Regions from separate parts of the Homo sapiens genome. Here regions 2 and 3 are each linked to region 1. Evidence: promoter capture Hi-C in 16 types of primary human blood cells and fetal thymus (Javierre and others, 2016). All regions are on one chromosome and are shown on one strand. Each heading gives the region's core, a stretch centred on a gene start or on the middle of the fragment in contact. The rest is flanking DNA. Distances are from core to core; before and after follow the strand shown. Region 1 holds the start of NDUFA10 (NADH:ubiquinone oxidoreductase subunit A10). Region 2 holds the start of ASB1 (ankyrin repeat and SOCS box containing 1). Region 3 holds the start of ILKAP (ILK associated serine/threonine phosphatase).

Region 1 (4,272 bases), core at 721-3,220:
GAAACATTAGTTTTTCATGTGTCAAAATGAGAAATAATTTAAAAAATGATTACAGAGTTAGGACAAGACAATGAGTACCATCCTAAACTGCTAATGGTAATGAAACCTAGAGGACGCTGGGTCTACAGCATTAGGAATCCATTCAAAGAGTATATACATAAGATTGACCTATAAGGATGCTCAATGAAGTATGATGTAACACCAAAAATGCAAATAGAAACCCTTAAATGTCCAACAACGGAGGAATAGTTAAACAAAATTAAGGCATATCCATATTATGGAATACTAAGTACTCAGAAAAACACAAAAATATTAAAATACTTTATAGTGAAATTTAAATAAAACAGGAGAATATGAAATATCAAGATATTTTTCGATCTTGATTTGATAACTGAAGAGTAAGGAAGAAACAAGTTACAAAACAAGGCAAAGCAGACAACCCAATTTAAAAATGGGCAAAAGATGTAAACACCTCTCGCAAATGAAATTAACGCAGATAGCAAATAAGTATATGAAAAGATGAACACTGTATATCATGAGATATTCCAAAGTTGAAACAAGATACCACTACGCAGCTATCAGAATGGATAGCAATCCAAAGTAACCGACAGCCCCGCATGCTGGCGAGCACGCAGAGCAACAAGGAGAGCCTTCACTTCTGGTGGGAGTCAAATGGCACAGTCACTCTGGAAGATGGCTTGGCAGCTTCTTAGAAAACTAGTCTTACTACATGAGTAATCGCTCTTCCAGGTATTACCCAAATGATATAAAAATGTATTTCCAAAAAGAAATCTGCATGTACACGATTACAGCAGCTTTATTCATAATTGCCAAAAACTTGAAGCAACCAAGATGCCCTTCAATTGCTGAATGAATTGAAGTACATCCATGCAATGAGATATTACTCAGTGATTAAAAAGAAATGAGTTACCAAGCCACGAAGACATAAGTGAATCTTACATAGATATTTCCAAGTATTCAAGGCGTCTGAAAAGGCAATATATTGTATGATTCTAATTATATGACATTCCAGAAAAGGCAACTATGGAAATGTTAATGAGATCTGTGGTTGTCAGGGGTTGGAGAAAAAGAAGGGTTTAATAGGTAAAGCAGAGGGGAATTTTTTAAGGCAGTGAAGCTACTCTGTACGAACCTATAATGGTGGAGACATGCTATTACACACGTGTCAAAACCTATAGAACCTTATAGCACAAAGAAAAAATCCATAGAACCTTATAGCACAAAGAATGCGCTCAATGTATGCACATTTTAAAAAACGCATTAGGTAGAAGGATCCCAAGATGTAAGGCAGAATGTGACAAAGCAATCCAACTGTGTTACAAATGTATGAAACGATTTCACTGAAGAAGGTGGGGGCAAAATGCTAAGAAATGAGAGTAGTCAGTCAGAGTAAAGGCAAAAGGAAGCGGACACAAGCACTGAACTCCGTGTCTGCTCAACATGGCATCACCCAAGCACCCAGCAGGGCCCGACCTTTAAACGGCTCTTGACAGGGCTGCTACGTGAATTATCTAATGACAAGCGCGTGTGCCCCCGGCCTGCCACCTGCACACGGGCCTCCCGCATCAGGGCAGCCTCGGGGCCCTGATCACCTCCGCGCTCCAGCGTTTTGCTTAAAGCTGAGATAAAATGGCCTGGAGAAGCTCGTGGCCCCCTGAGGTCTGTCCACGACCAAAGACCAAACAATTCCGGAGGCAGGAGGGGTCCCCCAAACCCACCCGGAGAGCGACCTGGGAGCCGCCGCCAGAGGCCGGGGGAGATGTGGAACTGCTCCCCACCCCGCCACCCCGCCACCCTGCCACCCCGCCACCCTGCCACCCCGCCGCCCGCTCACCACGCGCTGGGCGCCCGCCGCCACGACCCGGGCGGACGCGGACGTCGCTGCCAGCTTCAGGAGCCGCAAGGCCATGGCTACCCGGTCAGCTCAGGATCAAGGACCCAAGGGGACGCGGTCGCGACGGGGCCCTCTCTCGCGGCCGGCGCGCTGCCGTGACGTCACGGCCGGGGTGCCCGCGGCGCCTGTCGGGAACCTTCCAGGGGGCGGGGCCGCGCCGAGGCCCTCGGGGGCTTCCGCGGAGACAGCCAGTGCGCTGCCAGGGTCCTGCGGGTTGGGGCGAGGGCCGAGAGGTGGGAGTTGGAGGTGAACGTGGGGGCAGCATGCTGGCTGCCCGGCCCCTGCCTGGGTTCTGAGTTGCTGCGGTGTCGCGGGAGCTGAGGCCGCCCAGGGCGTGGAGCGACTTCTGCGTCTCGTCCCAGGGTCCTGTGCTCCCCGCAGAATCCCCCAGGCGCGGTGTGGACGTCAAAGCGACCTCCTAGAGAACATTCCTAGCTCTCAGAACGTTCTCGCTGGGGAGGGAAAGTGGAAAAAGAGGGGGCGAGGAGCGGAGGGACGGGGTGGGACCCCTGTCGCGGGGCGCCTGTCAGGGAGAGGGACCTGGCAAGGCCGGCCTGGGTCGCCTCCGGAGCTGAAGGCTAAGTGGTCTCATCCAGGGGACCTGCTGTGAACACATTGAATAGCATAGAAAACAAAAGCACACGCTCCAAGTCCATCTCTTTTTTTTTTTTTTTTTTTTTTTTTTTTTTTTTTTTTTTTTGAGGCAGAGTCCCGCTCTGTCGCCCAGGCTGGAGTGCGGTGGCGCCATCGCGCTCACTGCAAGCTCCGCCTCCCTGGTTCACGCCATTCTCCTGCCTCAGCCTCCCGAGTAGCTGGGACTACAGGCGCCCGCCGCCACACCCGGCTAATTTTTTGTATTTTTAGTAGAGACGGGGTTTCACCATGTTAGCCAGGATGGTCTCGATCTCCTGACCTCGTGATCCACCCGCCTCGGCCTCCCAAAGTGCTAGGATTACAGGCGTGAGCCACCGCGCCGGCAAGTCCATCTCTTAAAATGTGCTCCCGTCAGGACCTGGGCTCTGGGCTCCACGAAGGAGCCTTGCATGTGAGGTTTCCTTCCAAGTATGCCTGCTGTTGGGAAGGGTTTTTATAATCTTTTGTGTTCCCCAGGCTTTTTGTTCTTAACCCCTTAAATATTCTTTAACTTTGTTTTCAACTTTTCAGAAATGATCATGCGATTGTAAAACAGTGGGAATGCAGCTGTGTAAACTACGGCCGGTTCTATGGATGTTTCTATAATTGAAGAATTGCTTTTTGTCAAAAATACGGATTCCCGGTCCCCAACGCAGGAGGGTCTGGTTTTTAGATCCTGGAGGGCACCTGAAATCCATTTAACAAGCTTTAGGGTTCATGTCTGCTGTTTTTTGCCTTGTTTCCTTTGCATTTTTTTTTTTTTTTTTTTTTTGTGCCTTCCAATGGATACAGTACATTTTTTTAGAATTCCATCTTGATTTACTGATAATGTCTTGGGAAATATCATTATGTATAGTTTTCGTAGTGGTTCCTCTAGGTATCACAGCACGCAGACGTAACTTCTCACAACCTGTTTGCGTGGATGTTTTGTTGTACCTGAGCGAGTTAGAAAAACACCACCTTTGAGACGAATTAAGAGTCCTTTATTAGCTGGCGACCGAGAGACGGCTAACGCTCAAAATTCTCTCAGCCCCGAGGAAGGGGCTTGATTAACTTTTATACCTTGGTTTAGGAAGGGGGGGGGGTCTAGTTAAAACAATTTTACAGAAGTAAAGTAGTCAAAAAGTTAAAAGGGTAAATGGTTACAGGAAAGTAAACAGTTCAAGGTGCAGGGGCTTTAAGACTATTACAAGATGATAGACCCGGGGCTTTGGGCGTTATCAATCGGACAAATTCCTGGGAACTGCGGATGTAGCTTGCCACAGTATCTTACCAGTTAATTGCATTCTTGGATGTGGTGGGAGTCAGCCTGCACAAGTTAAGTCCTTGAGAAAGGGGCTGCCAGTGAAAGAGCCAAGATGGAGTCTGTCTGGCTCTCTTAGCTAAGGGAGAGTCAATTCAGGTGGAAACAGGGCTAGGTGATTAAAGGAAAAGGGAGAGTCTGAAAACAGTTAGTAAAAACCAGGTTGGGCATTACAGTTTTACTGGTTCAAGGGAAGTATTACTATATACTTCCCCGTCCCTCCGCTTCTCGCCCCCCTTTTTCCGTTTTCCCTCCCCAGCTAGAACGTTCTGAGAGCTAGGAATGTTCTCTAGGAGGTCGCTTTGACGTCCACACTATATTAGACAGCATGAAAATAACTTCAGACCCCAATAGACCAATATCTCTCGTGAACTTAGACACAAAAATCCTTAACGAAATGTTAGCAAATTGAATCCAACAC
Region 2 (4,704 bases), core at 2,165-4,664, 1.6 Mb before region 1:
AAGGTGGGCTCAGTTTAGGACAGGGTGGGGTGGGGTGGGAGGCTGGAGGTGGGCGTGGCTCCACTCAGCAAAGCCATGCCATAGCGTTAGCAGCCATGGCACCGATGCCCACTGTGTCCTGAGGCTCTCTCTGCCCCAGGAAGCCTGTGGCACATTCTATGGGATTTTGTGTCTTTACAAAGCCTGCAAAGTGGGTATTATCAGCCCGATTTGACAGGGAGGCAGCTGGTGCTCAGAGGAGTCACCCTGTCCTGGTGACTCAGCTGGAAGGATGTGGATCTGCCTCCCTAGCTTGGGGCAGACACCCTGACTCTCTGCAGGTGGGCTCCAAGGCCTGAGACAGGGTCTGCGGGGCAGGGGCTGGTAAAGATGTTTCCAGGGCAAAGCCTGGAGGGTCAGCGGGCTGCCCTCATCTCGTGGCCTCACCTGGTAAACCTTCAGATCCCCTGCTTCCTTCAAAGCAGGAGATCCTTCAAAGGGGAAGAGAGGGCTGGGCCTCCTGGGAGGAGACACCCCAAACACAGGCCCACAGGGCCTAGGATCAGGAGAGATTCCCATTTCTGGTCCCTGCCTGGGTGACATCTGCTGCCCAATTCCCGGAGACAGCTGTGGGGGTTAAGCGACAGCAGCACCAGCACACCCAGGCCCAGCAGGATCCTCACCAGCCTGCAGCTGTGGAGCTCATGTTTCCAGCCCCCCATATACCTGCCATGCTTCCAGAGGGGCCCCCAGTTCCCTGCAACAGGAAGGATGAGGGATGGGGGCCCCTTCTCAGACCTCCTGAACCAGAAAGTCCATTGTTGGACATTTTTGTTATAAAATGATGGTAATGAGCACTACTGTAGCTGAATCTCCCCCACATCTGATTATTTCCCTAGAATGAATGCCTGGAAGAGGCATTTCTGATCAAGGATTATTCATTCTTATGCTTTAGCTAGACTGCCAAATTTTCCACCACAAAGACTGGGCTAGGCTCCACAGAGGGGTCACTGGGGACACTTTGGGGGAGGCCTGAGCCTCCAGGAGGCAACAGGAAGCGACGGGTGATTTTAGGGGTGGGAAAACGGGAGGGAGCCACTGGGACCTGGAGGGGCAAGACAGCCCACTGCACTGGTCCTGTTGCTGCTGTGCTGGGCTGGGATGGCACTGGTAGGCACTGGTAAATCCCTGTTGCTTGTAGGTGATGGGACCCAAGTTGCTTCATCTCTAGCGGTCACTGAGTGTCCCTGTGTTGGTGGGTCTTTTGGGCTCAGAGGACCTGGAAGAAGAGGGACTCTGGAGAGGTGAGGTCAGAGGGGGAGACAGGCTGTAGGGCTGGACAGTCTGGATGTGATCCCAACTCAGCCACCTGTGGGCTATGTGGTTTTGGGCATAGCACCAGGCCCCCAGATCTCAGGGTCCTGAGAAATGGGGGTGATGGTATTGGCAGAGTGGCCAGCAATTGAGTGTCCTTCCCCCTCCAGCACTGCTGGCTCTGTGGACACTGCCCTGCACCATGTGGGCATTTAGGAGGCACGGAGGTGGGCATGTGAGGCCACCTCCCCGCTACAGACCACGTGCGGCCTCAGGTTCTTCTAAGAGGCAGGATCCCAAGGGCAACACGTGGCAGGGAAGGTGGAGGTGCAGGTGCAGGAGGGCCACTCTGCTCAGGGACTCAATACCTTGATGCAAAGGCTACCGACACGCAGAACGCTCACTGTGAGCCCACCGGGACCAGGCAGGCAGAGCAGCGGAGGCCCCCGGAGACGTGGCTCTCACCAGGCTGCACTTTAGAATCACCTGGGTGCTCTGAACCACCCAACACCCAACCCGCACCCCTGACTGACTGCACCGGAACCTCTTTTAAAAAATTCTTTAAAACAATTGTGGTAAAATATATAGAACATAAAACTTAACCTGCTTTAAATGCGCAGTTCAGTACTGTTAATGCACAATTCACATTGCTGTGTGACCCGTCTCCAAAACTTTTTCATCTTCCTCAACTGAAGCTCTGTCCCCATGAAAAACTAACTCCTCATTCCCCACTCCCCCAGCCCTTGGCAACCCCCATTCCGCTCCACCATTTCACTGCTCCAGGGACCTCAAATAATTGGAATCACACAGTACTGTATTTGTCTTTTTGTGGCTGGCTTATCTCACTCAGCATAACGTCTTCAAGGTCATCCGTGTTGTGACGTGTGTCAGGATTCCCTTCCTTTCTAAGGCTGAGTACGAATCCATTGTATGGACGGACAGCATTTCCTTTCTAAGGCTGAGTACGATTCCATTGTATGGATGGACGGCATTTCGTTTATCCATTCATCCATCCAACAACACGTGAGGCGGCTTCAGGCTTCGGAGTTGCTGAAGCTCCGAGTTCGGGATGTGCAGCTGTGGTGGAGCCAGGGGCTGGGCACACCCCTGGCTCCTGGCCTGGCAGCGTCATCATCGGAGTCACCTGTCCCTCATGCCAGTGGTGCTCTCTGCTGTCATCAAGACCAAACACCACTGTAGGAAGTACCCCCACTCCCGCCTCCAACCCCCACAGGGCCTGCCAGGTCTGCCCCCAGTGGGCCCCCTGGTGCATCTGGGCCACCCAGGGCCAGCCTCAGCAGGGGCACTCGCGGGGCTGCGCCTGCGGCTTCCCTTACTCCAGTCTGGAATGTTGTACACACGGATGAGCCAGCAGCTCACGCCCACGACTGCTGGGGTCTCCGGACTCCCTCATCAGCCTCCTGCTGTGCTGTGTACAAATCCTCCTCCTGCATGAGGCCCCGCTGTCTAACTCAGCAGGGGAGAATGGGAGGAGCCAAGGGAATCCGTGCTTTAGGACCAACACCAATACTCATGGTGGGACGACGCTGCGATATTTGAAGTTGGGAGTGTGCAAGAAATGTTACTCGGTTGTTCACGAATGCATTCATTTATTCAATGAACTTCGCGTCAGCCACTGGCTGTCATCAGTTACCGACCTGATTGAGGGCTTCATGGAAGGGATTTGGAGGAGCATTCATCTAAAACCACAGCACGCTGCGACGCTCAGCCCTGCAGTGGGCCCTCACCAGTCCCCGCGCCTCCGAATCCACCCTCCCGGGGCTGCTCGTGGCTAGCGGGGGGCACCTGCGGGGACCAAGCCAGCCCGGCCGAGGCCCGGGTCCCGCCCGCCACGGCCCTCGGGGCCCCGCCCACATCTGGCAGAAGCCACGCCCCGTCCGTGTGGGTGGGGACGGCCCGCCGGACCGAAATTCCCAGACTGCTGCCTCAGGCAACGGGCTTTCCGACTCCTTGGCTTCTTATGTGAGGAAACCACAGCGCGGCCGGCATCCAGAGAGTCGGTTAGCCGCGAAGTTCCCGCCGGACGAAGGGACCAGCCAGCGCCCTGCTAGACAGCGAGGCCGGAAGCGGAGGCGTGGCCCCTGCGCGGCCCCGGAAACCAGTGAGGCCGGCGCGCGCCCGCCGGAAGCCGCGACCCCGACGCGCCCCCCATTGCCCTCGGCGCCGGAAGTGGTCGCGGGTCGTTCTGCTTCCTGCCCGAGGGGCGTGCGCGGGTCAGGGGCGGCCGCGGAGGCGGAAGCATCCATGGCGGAGGGCGGCAGCCCAGACGGGCGGGCAGGGCCGGGCTCCGCAGGTAACGTGCGCGCGGCCACTGGGCCGCGGGGCGTGTGGGGATGGCGAAGGGCTGGCTCCGGCGTCCCTGCCGAGGTCCTGCGTCCTCGTCCCGGGCTGGCCGGGTCCACGGGGCAGCCAGGGAGCCGCACCCTGCAGGCCGGGGGTGGGGTTCAGCGCGGCTCGCAGTGCTGGGCGACCCCACCACGGACGCGCTGCCCTCTCCTCGGCCTCGAGTGCAGTCCCCGCGCTAGATTTTCTTTCCGGTGGAACTTGCTCGTAACTTCCTTCCCGTTAGCCGATACAGATTTGATATGACCCAACCGCAAAAGTAGGACGTGGGCCACCTTCCAGCTCTGAGCGCACGGATCAGGAAAGCCAGCCAGAGGGTAGCCCTAGGGAGGGCAGGCACTTTTTCACCATTCTGCCGCCCACGGCGTGTCCGGTGGTACAGCGGGGGGCAGCCTTCCCACCCACCACAGGCACAGACCAGGGACAACGGGGACGCCGTCTCCAGCGAGCTCGTCAGTGACACAACATGTCCAGGGGCCTTTGGCCCACCAGCAAGGGAGGCAGATAGAAAGGCTCACACCCACCTTCCAAAATAACTGTCCTACTTAGGGTCTCCACCTTGCAGTGTCCCTACCATGCAGATGTGAAGGAAGCGGTCAGGACAGGTTCCCGTTTCCCGGTGGTGTGGTGGGAGTTCCTTCTTGCTGGATTTCTGAGCTTGCCATTCGCGCCAATAGTTTCGTGTGTTCTGGGCTTTCTTTACATGCCTATATTTGTCTTTGGAGGGGTTCCTCTCCTACTTAGTAATAAACCAATACATTTCTTAAACATCTTAAAAGATTGACTTGGAGACTGGTGCAGATAGGCTTTTCCATCCATCCCTCCCTCTGCACCTCCTTCCAATCATTTAACAGACTTGTATTGAAGACCTGCTGTTGGCTAGACCCAGCAGAGGATACTGCAGTGACCAGAAAAAGCCAGACAAAGCATCTACCATCCTGGGCTTTGGTTGGCGTTGACTTTGACTTCAGAGACAGCCAGGACCTTAGGGTCTAGGATGTCATCTCATGTGAGAGTGAGAGACGGAATGATGCGTGTTCCGTGGGA
Region 3 (4,215 bases), core at 1,341-3,840, 1.8 Mb before region 1:
GTGTGAGGGTCATGATGCACAGTTTAGACTCATTATTCCATTCACTTTAGCAATCAATATGATTTATTCAAAGTATGTTTTTTTTTTTTAAATCACAGTATTTTCACAAGTATGTGAAACCAGATTCTGTTCTTGTACAAACGATTTTAACCTGTCAAATCTCATCTTGTTGGTTGTAGCTAACAGCCTGCAATGATAACTATGGATCCCAATTGTCACTCATTTTAGTACTTATCCCTCTCAGCTTCCAATCATCTACAAATTCTGAGATCTTCTTCGTTTTAAAGCTATTTTTAAAAATACACTCAGCCAAGCAGGACCTGTTGACAATGTCAGTGCCCTCCTGGCAGATGGGGAGCAGCTGACCAATCCAATCTCAGGGTGGTCAGCAGTTTAAACACCATGCACCCCCTCTGCCACCCTTTCAGCTCAGTCAAGGTTGGAAACTGAGTTTGGAAAAAACGGCAACAGGATGTACCTTTCCCACTGTATCTGGCAAAAGGCTGCTAAGGTGCCAACCTATGAGATTCTGAGTTGCCAGGTTTTTTGTCAGTCAAGGGAGCCTGCTCCTGAGCAGAACCTAATTAATTGCAGGTAAAAAGCAATGGAGATTTTAAGACTCATAGGTTTACACGCACACTGGTGAATCCAAATGCTGTCCCAAATATATTCAGATAGAAATTATACTCCATTGACAAGAGAAAAAAGACTGCTACACAAATCCAATTTTTACCCACAGCTAAAACCGTGGTTATTTTGAAAATGAATGGCTGAGTCAAGTTCAAAGACTCCAGGACCAGTTACTGAGATGCTCTGTACCATCAGAACGGTCAGTGGGGGCAGGGCACGGTGGCTCACACCTGTAATCCCAGCAATTTGGGAGGCCGAGGCGGGCGGATCACCTGAGGTCAGGAGTTCAAGACCACCCTACCCAACATGGTGAAACCCCGTCTCTACTAAAAATATAAAAATTAGCCGGGTGTGGTGGTCGGCGCCTGTAATCTCAGCTAGTAGGGAGGCCTAGGCAGGAGAATTGTTTGAACCCGGAGGTTGCAGTGAGCTCAGATCTCACCATTGCACTCCAGCCTGGGCGACAAGAGTGAGACTCCGTCTCAAAAAGTAAAATAAAATAAAATGTTTTCTCGCCCAGAATTACTGCAAATCACAAGCCTGAACATCCTTGGAAGCTCAATTCAAACACTGCCTCCTTCCCCAGTCTCTCGGTGCCCGACAATCCCTCCTCAAGAGTCCTCAGCATTTCCCACAGTCATTAACTTTTGCCAGTTTTAATTACCGTAATTAGTACCCTTCAGAAAGCAGCTCTTAGAAAGCGAAGGCTGGGCCTTACTCACCTCCGTCTACCCTACAACAGCAGCTCCCAAACCACTGGTCTCCAGCCCCCGCTGGGTTGGCCTGGGGATTTAGTAACAGATTCGGAAACCCCACTCTCAGGGATTCGGATTTACTGGGGCTGAGGTGGGCCTGGAAATCTGAACGTCTTAAGTTTTCCAGGTTTTCTGCCCCCAAGTTAAATTTTGTAATAAGGCCCTAAACTACAACATCAAGCTGGAAGTCTTGCATATGAAATATTCACGCGTTTTGACAGATGAAACCCGGAGACTGTAACCCACAGGACGCAGGGATTAACACAGGCCCTGTTTCAAGCTGCTAGGATGCTGAGCTCAAACCACAGCCCACAGGGACTCCCACTGGCAGGGGCCAGCGCTTAGGAGATGAGCGGACCCCTTAACTTCAAGGAGAGGGGGAACTTCCCGTGGACCAGAAAAAAAAAAAAAAAACTACTGTTAATTATCACAAAATCACAGGATGACAGAGGAGGCATCCTGTCTTCCAGGCTTCAAAAACACGAAGGATTAAGATGGTGATTAATTCAATCTCCAGTGCAAATAAAAACGCCAAGCCCCTGAACTTGCACCGGCCCGGAACGCGGCCGTTCCACAGCCCGCGGGTGAAGTGCGGCCCGGAAGCCGCGGGCGGGCGACGCGCAAGGCAGCCCAGGCCGCGGGTGGAATCGGGGCGCGGGGGCCCGCGGTGCCGCCGGGCGTTCAGAGCCGGTCCCTCGGGTCGGCCCACGCGGTCGCGCCGGCGCCTTTCACCGCCACGCAGAGGGGCCGTGGCCACGACGGCTCGGCCCTTTCCTTCCTGCGTAGCGAAAATGGCGGAGCGGCCTCTCCGAGCTCCGCGAGCGACCGGGCCTCCGACAGGGCCGCCAGTGGGCCGGACGGGGCCTGGCCAGGCAGGAGCAGGCCCCGTGCAGCCCGCGCCGCCCGCCGCCTCCCAGCGCGGGCGCCGCCTCAGCCGCCCCGGGCCTCAGGCCGCCCCCATCCCGCCTGCTCTCCCTTCCCTGGCCGGCCCGGCGGCAACGCCGCTTACCGGCAGCCGGGCGCGGCGAGCGCTCGGGCTCCGGCAGGTCCCCGAAGAGGTCCATGGCGGAGGCTGGGTGGAGGCGGCAGCAGCGACAGACACTCAGCCCGCGAGCAGCGGCCGGGCTCCACACCCCGGGCGGGCGGCAGCAGCGGGCGGGCGACGGGCAGGGGCGGCCGGCGCCGTCAGTCACCTGCAGGGAGAGTCCCGGACGCCACCAATCGGCGCGCGGCGTGGCCCGGCCGCCCCAGAGGGCTGCGCGCGGGCTGGGCGGGGCGGCTGGGGGCGGGGCGGTGCGCATGCGCGTGGGCCCCTCCCGCGCCCCGACTGCGAGCCGGGCGGACGGCGCCGTCTGGGCCCCGCGGTGTTTCCCGCCTTGGCGAACCCCGGGCCCCTCCTGCTTTTCCTTGGCTGGGGGTGTCCGATTTCTGTCAAGTTTCGTTGAGTTCCTGTCCAAGAAGCCCTGTCCAGAGAGAAACGTCTGAGCTCAAGGGCAGCCCCTGATGCCTGGGAAGGCTTTCTGGAGCTCTTGCCATCTCTTCGGCTCGTCCTTTCACCACGGCGTGCCTGGTTTCTGGCCTGTTTTAGAGACTGAGAAACCGAGGCTTGGATGGAGCGGCCCTGGGCGTCAGGACGGAAACCTCAAAAGATGCCGGAGGGAAAGGAGGCATTCCCTGACTTGTCTGCACCCACTGGTGTCTGTGGGGAGCGGAGAAGAGGGGCTCCTCCTTAATGGTGTCCCCCTCCATGCCTGTAAAGAGAAAGGCGGCCACTGACATCGGGGAGCTGGCCTGGTTCTGCAGCCAGGACTTGGGGTTGGTCTGGCACAAACAGCTAGGCCTGGGTGTTCTCTTTGAATGTGAACAATTTCATAAAACACCAACATCAGGCCGTGATACAGATCAAGAGAAAAAAACAGACCACTGTGTAATCAAGTGTGAACACAGACAAAACAGGAACACTGTCCAAGCCACAAAAGTGACCACATTCCCCTCGTCTTGGCCAATAAGAGTGATTGCTGCTTCTTTACCATTACATGTTTAGCCTTTGTCTCGTCCTCCTGCCGTCTAGATAAGCTTCATCAAGATATCCAATCATGGAATCCTCCTCTTCCTGACATCCAATCCGGAGCAAAGGCCCGTTTCCATAAATGTTTCCCCAAATCAACTAACACAAACCCAAATCTTACACCTCCGTTCCAACATCGTTTACCCAAGTTCCCCAGGTTATGTGGTCTCCCTCCATGCAAAGAGTTTTCAGCCCAGTTCATTCTGGGGCAGATGTATTTCTGACGCTCTCTGGCTGTAGGACATGGAGGGAGCCCAACAAGGCTTCATGCCTCTCATCTGCGTGGCTTCTCACTAGCAACCGTTTGAGATATTCATGCTGCCTCCTCCATTACAGCAGAAACACTCAAGTAACAATGCTTGTAACCGTTAAAGAAAGAGGAAATAAATACAAAAAGCGGCTCAACATTAAAAGGTTTATTTCAGAGAATAAACCTGAGAGGGGATTCTGGCCAATTTCGATCAGGAGCGCTCTCTCTTACAGACTAAGCATTCTCTCTTACAGACTAAGGATATTTAAGGGTTTTGGAAGTGGGGGAACGTTTATTGCAGGGTTGGAATGTCTCTGGTCGGAGGGGAGGCTATTGGAGGAGAGGTTATTTCAGGGTTAGCATGTTTCTGGTTGAAGAGAGGTTTATCTTAGGGTTGGAATATTTCTGGTTATGCTGACATTAGCCGTTAGGCTGATGTTTTGGGGTAGGATTTAGGTGGTTTTTTAATCAAGGGGAACTTAGAAAGGTGGTGTTTGTCCAAGATGGCAATG

Evidence for each region. Contacts are between HindIII fragments. The CHiCAGO score rates a contact against its expected background, and 5 or more counts as called.
Region 2: a contact is called between the fragment with the promoter of ASB1 here and the fragment with the promoter of NDUFA10 in region 1, in 8 of 17 cell types (fetal thymus, total B cells, naive B cells and 5 more). The highest score is 17.2, in fetal thymus.
Region 3: the fragment with the promoter of ILKAP here is called in contact with the fragment with the promoter of NDUFA10 in region 1 in 1 of 17 cell types (total B cells); the score reaches 7.5 in total B cells.

Annotation. Positions count from the first base shown.
Region 1 is chr2:240,023,372-240,027,643 of GRCh38, forward strand. NDUFA10 (NADH:ubiquinone oxidoreductase subunit A10) reads right to left here and starts at 1,971. Exons shown (of 10, transcript NM_004544.4): 1 at 1,856-1,971. The coding sequence starts at 1,930. RefSeq lists a silencer at 1,898-2,157 and an enhancer at 1,966-2,795. The HindIII fragment of the contact is 3,872 bases long and covers 1-3,252 here.
Region 2 is chr2:238,423,513-238,428,216 of GRCh38, forward strand. It overlaps ASB1 (ankyrin repeat and SOCS box containing 1), which reads left to right and starts at 3,415. Exons shown (of 5, transcript NM_001040445.3): 1 at 3,415-3,607. The coding sequence starts at 3,559. LOC124908002 (a long non-coding RNA gene) reads right to left here and starts at 3,382. Exons shown (of 2, transcript XR_007088163.1): 1 at 1-3,382. RefSeq lists enhancers at 1,996-2,531, 4,044-4,163 and silencers at 2,864-3,253, 3,274-3,793. The HindIII fragment of the contact is 6,850 bases long and covers 1-4,704 here.
Region 3 is chr2:238,201,105-238,205,319 of GRCh38, forward strand. It overlaps ILKAP (ILK associated serine/threonine phosphatase), which reads right to left and starts at 2,591. Exons shown (of 12, transcript NM_030768.3): 1 at 2,395-2,591. The coding sequence starts at 2,449. RefSeq lists enhancers at 1,578-1,637, 2,600-3,472 and silencers at 2,008-2,097, 2,218-2,787. The HindIII fragment of the contact is 5,343 bases long and covers 1-3,459 here.